Regions from separate parts of the Homo sapiens genome. Here region 1 is linked to region 2. The links are contacts of gene promoters, found by promoter capture Hi-C in human tissues and cell types (Jung and others, 2019). All regions are on one chromosome and are shown on one strand. Each heading gives the region's core, a stretch centred on a gene start or on the middle of the fragment in contact. The rest is flanking DNA. Distances are from core to core; before and after follow the strand shown.

Region 1 (3,483 bases), core at 442-2,941, 680 kb before region 2:
AGCCTCCTGAAGTGCTGGGATTACAGGCATGAGCCACCACTCCCAGCCAAGCATAGACTTATAAGGTCTATGAAATCAAGAATAGAAAATAGAGAATGGAGGGGAGGTGATATTTGTTTAATGGGTATGGAGTTTCATTTGGGAAGATAAAAAATGTTCTAGAGATGGATAATGGTTGCACAACAATGGGAATGTAATTAATGTCACTAAACTATATACTTAAAAATGTTCAAAATATTTTTTAAAAAGGCATATTTGACCACCTAAGCATAAGGATATGGAAAGGGTGAGCTTGAAAAAGTTACACCAAAAGCAAGGTGGTATTTCTGCATTAATAACCAAACTTTAAGACGAATCATGGTGAATTATGCATGTAATCCCAGCACTTTGGGAGGCTGAGAAGGGAGGATCACTTGAGCTCAGGAGTTCAAGACCAGCCTGGGCAACATGGGGAGACCCCATCTCTACAAAAAATCAAAAATTAGCCAGGCGTGGTGGTGCAGGCCTGTAGTCCCAGCTACTTGGGAGGCTGAGGCAGGAGGATCACTTTAGCCTGGGAAGTCAAGGCTGCAGTGAGCTGTGATCATGCCACTGCACTCAGTCTGGGCAACACAGCAAGACCCTGTCTTAAAAAGACCAAATTAATAACAAACTTTAAGACGAAAAACATTATTAGTGTAGAGGTGGTCACTATGCAGTAATAATAAAGTGATGACAATGTTTAAAAAAAATTCACCAGATAGATATAACCATCTAAATTAATATGTGCCTAATAAAATAGCCTAAAATATTTAAAGCAAAAATAATTAAAGCTACAGGGGAAAATAGACACATCTATCATTATGGTGTGAGATGTCAACAAATGTCTCTGAACTACGGCTACATCAAGGCAGCAAAACATCAGGAGCTGGTGGCAGCAGAGACCACTGGCCTTGGTAGTAACTGAAGTATAGAGCACTAGATCAAAGCGAACCGATAAGCAATTTGATCCCTAGGTCCCCTCCTCTACTCCATGCCACTGGCCAACTGCCCCTTTCTTAGTCTAGCATAACACTGGAGATTTATTCTCTGGAGAAGGCAAAACAGAAGGTCTTTGGGCCAGTAGCTGAATAAGAGGGTTAAGTGATTATATACACACTGAAATCCAAGACCTCCAACCCTCTTCTGTCACTTGTCAGCCAAAGTGGCAACTCACTCAGTCACCAGGAGGGTAAAGACAGACTTTTACCCTCCAGACAGCCCCTCTATGGGACTCTGGCCAACCCAAGAAGAGAGATCTAAGACGAATGTTACCCAACAAAATATCCATCCAGCTCAAAGTCAACATGCTTGCCATCAGTTTTTAAGATCTCGCTCTTAATAATGAGCAATCAAGGATTATTAGACAACTAAGGAGAACCTCTACCTTAAGAGAGACCAAACCCAGTAAGCAGAAGAAAAGCAACTTGCAGGAAACAGAGACTCTGTAGAAAAAAGAAGAGGAGGTGAAGAGGAGGAGGAGGAGAAGGAAGGCAAGGAGGAGGAAGAAGGAGAGGCATTAATAACCTCAGGATGAGAAAAGAAGGTATTGCATTCATGAAATAATAACCTGATTCTATGAAAGTAAACATTCACAGAACAACAAAAACTATTGGAAAATAATATATTTTTTAAAAGCATGATGGTAGAAATGAAAACAATGAGTAAGGTTGGAAGACACAGTTGAGGGAATATCCTTCAGAAAGAAAGAAATGGAAAATAGTGAAAAGATTAGAAAAGTAGAGAATCAATTTAGAAGATTCAATATCTGAATAAAGAAGCAACAGAAGAAAATGAATGAACTGGCCAGGCATGGTGGTTCACACCTGTAATCCAAGCACTTTGGGAGGCTGAGGCAGGCAGATCACAAGGTCAGGAGTTTGAGACCATCCTGGCTAACATGGTGAAACCCCGTCTCTACTAAAAATACAAAAAATTAGCTGGGCGTGGTGGCGGGCGCCTGTAGTCCCAGCTACTCGGGAGGCTGAGGCAGGAGAATGGCGTGAACCCGGGAGGTGGAGCTTGCAGTGAGCCGAGATCTCACCACTGCACTCCAGCCTGGGAGACAGAGCGAGACTCTGTCTCAAAAAAAAAAAGAAAAGAAAATGAAGGGGGTAAAGCATCAAATAAATAATTCAAGATTATTTCCCAAAACTGAAGTATATGAGTTTTCAAATTGAAAAAGACCACCTTAGCTGGACATGGTGGCTCACATCTGTAATCCCAGCACTTTGGGATTCTGGTTTATAAAAAAATTAGTGTTATACTGTAAGATTTTTTATTTGCTTATATCAGTCTTCAAAAATATCCATTTTAATAGTTCATTCATTCAGCAGTTATTTGTTTGGTATTTCTTTGCCTGACAGTCACTCTTCCAGGCACAGGGTGTATAGCAATGAGCAAAACAAGGCCCTGCCCTATGAGGTTTACATTCTAAGCTTTATAGGGCTTACAATGTAATAAAAGACATTAAAAAGAAATAAAAGACATAAATAAAAGAGAAATCAAAGACATAAATAGAAAATAGTGATAAAGTCTTCTAGAACTTTTTTTTAACTCAACATTATATCCAAGACTTACCTTATTTTATGTAACTATAGTTCATTTTTTTTTTTTTTTTTTTTGAGACGGAGTCTCACTCTATCGCCCAGGCTGGAGTGCAGTGGCACAATCTCAGCTCACTGCAACCTCTGCCTCCAGGTTCACGCAATTCTCCTGCCTCAGCCTCCTGAGTATCTAGGATTACAGGCTTGCACTACCATGCCCAGCTAATTTTTGTATTTTTAGTTGAGACAGGATTTCACCATGTTGGCCAGGCTGGTCTCAAACTCCTGACCTTGTGATCTGCCTGCCTCAGCCTCCCAAAGTGCTTGGATTACAGGTGTGAACCACCATGCCTGGCCAGTTCATTCATTTTTATTGCTGTATAATATTCCATGATAGGACCATAACTGTGGTAGGATAAAAATGGCCTCTCAAAGATATTGAATCCTAATCTTTGAAAACTGTAAATGTTACCTTATATGAAAACAGAGTCTGTAAAGATGTAATTAAGTTAAGGACCGTGAGATGGGGAGATTATTCCAAATTATTGGAGTAGACCCTAAATGCAATCACATGTATCCTTATAAGAGGGGGGCAGAAAGAGATCTGACACAGACAAAAGAGGAAAAGGCACAAGATGGAGGAGTGTTGTGGCCAAAAGCCAAGGAGTGCTGGCAGCCACCAGGAGCTGAAAGAGACAAGAGAGCCTCCAGAGGGAGCATAGATCTACTGACATCTTGCTTTAGGCCCAGTAATACTGATTTTGGACATCCTGGCCTCCCGAATGGTGAGAAAATAAGTTTCTGTTGTTTAGAGTCACGTAGTTTGTGATAATTTGTTACAATTATCATTAAAAAAAGTAATGCAGATTTTGGAACCAAGAGTGGAGTGCTGCTGTAACCAAAACCTAAAAATGTGGAG
Region 2 (3,411 bases), core at 605-3,104:
ATTGCCTTCCTGGAGAGCTTCTGCCGAGGCCGCTCTGAGGGGGATGAGGAGGAGGAAGAATTTCTTCGCGGCCTGGTGGGGGCATAGTGAAGGTCATTCCCTCCAACTGTACTCTGCAATCCTACCACCCCTCCCAGCTTCCGCCACAGGGCCACAGGACACCTACGTGTCAGCACGCTGTGGGGGCTGCAAGGGCCTGAGGATCCCCGGGGGGCCAGGGGAGCCAGCACCACTGCTGCTGCTGCCCCCTCCTTCAGATTGGGTCCCGCTAGGCTCTTCGCTGGCCCCCTGAGGGGCTGGGGGTCCATTGCTCAGGCCAGGGGGTCCAGGGGATGACTTGAGCTCCACCTCTGTCTCCGTCTGGGTGCCTCGGCTCACCAAGGAAGGGGTGCACGTGGGTGGCAGTCCTGGGGGGGCTGCAAGACTGCTGGAGAGATGTTGAATTAACCTGAAGCCCCAGAGGCCCCAAGGAGGAGGAAAAATGGGGTGTGATGACATGCATACCTGTCCCCCGGAGGAGCTGGTGTGCCAGAGCCCTGCAGGGAGGAAGGGGGCACCTGCAGCCGCAGCAGGCGAAGGGCTTCTGCCAGGGCTGCCTTTACCAGTTCCATCTCCTGCTCCTGCACCCGAAGCCGCTGGCTCAGAGACTGGAGGGCCTCCCGAGCAGGGCCGTCACCTGGGAAAAGGGCAAGAGGTACTCAGAATGTACCCATCACCTGAAGAAAGCGTAGAGGGGATTCTGTCTCCCCACAACTTTACATGTGTCCGGTAGGACTGCCCCTTTCAGGCAGCCCCAGGCTTGAATGCTCGTCCAGAGGGGAGGAGACGGTGGTAAAGGATCAAGGGCCTCCTTCTGGCAGGGCAGGCGAGAAACCTGGCAAAGCTCCCTTCCTGCTGCCGTCTCAGCCTCCGCAAAGACTGGGAGTACCATGGAGTACCGGGGGGGAAATATGGAGTACTGCCGAGGAACGTGGGAGCCACAGAGAGAGGCGCCGCACTGGTGAGGGCAGGGACCGCAGCCCTCCCCACGCGCCCCCAGCAAGCTCAGGTCTCCAGCGAAAGCTGAGTAACTGAGCCGGGGGAACACCAGGAGAGAGAACGGGGTGCGGGAATGGAGTCATACTGAGGACCCAGAGTACAAGAAAAGAGATCCAGAGTGACAGGAGAGAGTGTGAGTGGTGAGCAGAGTCACAGTGAAGGTCTCAGGGGGCAGTGGGGATCAGAAGGAAAAAGACCTGAAATACCACGAGAAGAGGCCCGGAGTAACGCAGGGGGCAGGGAAACATCGAGGGGCCCGGAGTTACGTGGGGCGTAGAATGACGCTGGGGAAGCCCGAAGTGACAGCAAGACCCAAGCAACTAGGGAGGGCGACCGGAGGAACTGTGGAGGATGCTCGGAGCCCCTGGGGCGGAGGAGCACGCGGGGACGCCTCCAGACAGCCGTCCAGCTCTGGCATAACCCGACGAGCCGGGCGCTCCGGGAAGGGGCACGCCGCCCGCCCCGCCCCGTACTCACCGGGCCCCGCGGCCCCGTCCATCCGGCCCCCGGGTTGCTCCGAGCGGCGGCGGCGGAGGAGGCGTCTAAGCCGCGGGGGCCACGGCCGGGGAGAGGGGAAGGGGAAGCACCCCGGGGCGCGCGCGAAGGGCGCCGTACCACCACCCCGAGGGGGCGCTGTCGGGCGCGGGGAAGGGGCCTGGAGGGGGCGCTGTGGGCCCGGGGCCGCAGTCTCCAGACCCCCCCGGGCCCTCGGACTCTCCCGGGGCCGCTCTCGGCTCCCGGGGGTGGGGTGGCAGGGCCGTCCGGTGCCACAGCGCCGCAGCACAAACAGGCGCCGGACGCGGAGCCGCCAGGAAGCGCGGGAGGGGGGGCGGGCCCGAGGGGGGGCCGGGCCGCTTGGTAACCCCTCCCTGTCCGGGCCTCGCCGCTCAGTACGGGGGCGGGGCTAGCCGGCTGACCCCCTGGCCTACTCCCGGCCTCCGGCTCCAGGCCCTTCCCGGATCCCCGCCCCCGGATTCCCAGGGGACGGGGAAGGGAGCGCCCGCCCCGATATCTCCGCCCCCCAGCCCCTAACCCCTCAGGGTTGAGCGGACCAACCCCACCACTTCCGCGAGGGGCAGGGGCGGGGTCACAAAACGGGCCCTCGGCCTAGGGGCGGAGTTTCTCGTAAGGGGCAAGGCCAAGGCATCTTGTATTGGGGCTGACAGGGGGGCGGGTTATTAGGGCTGAGGATGGGAGGATGCTCAGGGTATTGGGGTCAGGGTGGCATTAGCCCAGCTCAAGCCGGGCCGGGCTGACTCAGCATCCTGCCCCAGCCAGCTTCCATCCCTGACACCTCTGCATTCCCTTGGGCAGAGATGGGAGATGGCGCCGGTGTTGCCCCTGGTGCTGCCCCTGCAGCCCCGCATCCGCCTGGCACAAGGGCTCTGGCTCCTCTCCTGGCTGCTGGCGCTGGCTGGTGGCGTCATCCTCCTCTGTAGTGGGCACCTCCTGGTCCAGCTAAGGCACCTTGGCACCTTCCTGGCTCCCTCCTGTCAGTTCCCTGTCCTGCCCCAGGCTGCCCTGGCAGCGGGCGCGGTGGCTCTGGGCACAGGACTAGTGGGTGTAGGAGCCAGCCGGGCAAGTCTGAATGCAGCTCTATACCCTCCCTGGCGAGGGGTCCTGGGCCCGCTGCTGGTGGCTGGCACGGCTGGTGGGGGGGGGCTCCTGGTCGTCGGCCTCGGGCTAGCCCTGGCTTTGCCTGGGAGTCTGGATGAGGCGCTGGAGGAGGGCCTGGTGACTGCCTTGGCTCACTACAAGGACACAGAGGTGCCTGGGCACTGTCAGGCCAAAAGGCTGGTGGATGAGCTGCAACTGAGGTACCACTGCTGCGGGCGCCACGGGTACAAGGATTGGTTTGGGGTCCAGTGGGTCAGCAGCCGTTACCTGGATCCCGGTGACCGGGATGTGGCTGAGTGAGTGATTTGCGTCTCCCTTCCTCCTCCTCCTCCTCCCTGGACAGGCTCCCTCCTGCTGCCTTGAATCCCCACCTCGCTCAGAGGGGCAATAAGTAGAACATAGTGGCTGAGAGACTGGTTACAGCTCTGCCATTTATTAGCTGTGAAACCCAGGGCATGTTACCAAACCACCCTGGGCCCATTCCTTCACCTGTAAAATGGAAATAATAGTACTTATCTGATAGAGTTGTTGTGAAGATGTGAATTATGCTTGGCTGGCACATAGTACAGCAGTCAGTAAATGTTTTACTATTCTTTTTCCCTTCTGAACACCTGTGCCCTTCAGTCCCTCCCCCAGGCCTCTATCTCCAGACATCCTAACCCCTCTGTCCCTCCCTTTGCAGCCGGATCCAGAGCAATGTAGAAGGCCTATACCTGACTGATGGGGTCCCTTTCTCCTGTTGCAACCCCCACTCAC

The links. The method cuts DNA at HindIII sites, captures the fragments that hold promoters and counts their contacts. A contact is called where the count stands out against the background at its distance.
Region 1: a fragment that was not itself captured here is called in contact with the fragment with the promoter of EML3 in region 2 in 1 of the 25 tissues and cell types used here (dorsolateral prefrontal cortex).

Annotation. Positions count from the first base shown.
Region 1 is chr11:61,930,148-61,933,630 of GRCh38, forward strand. It overlaps a transcript of RAB3IL1 not described here. Among named protein-coding and RNA genes, the nearest start is that of RAB3IL1, 14 kb to the left of the region's middle. The HindIII fragment of the contact is 6,912 bases long and covers 1-3,483 here.
Region 2 is chr11:62,610,921-62,614,331 of GRCh38, forward strand. It overlaps EML3 (EMAP like 3), which reads right to left and starts at 1,855. Exons shown (of 22, transcript NM_153265.3): 1 at 1,516-1,855; 2 at 505-676; 3 at 167-424; 4 at 1-72. The coding sequence starts at 1,537. It overlaps ROM1 (retinal outer segment membrane protein 1), which reads left to right and starts at 2,337. Exons shown (of 3, transcript NM_000327.4): 1 at 2,337-2,951; 2 at 3,338-3,411. The coding sequence starts at 2,362. RefSeq lists enhancers at 380-938, 939-1,498, 2,272-2,331 and a silencer at 1,342-2,221. The HindIII fragment of the contact is 22,621 bases long and covers 1-3,411 here.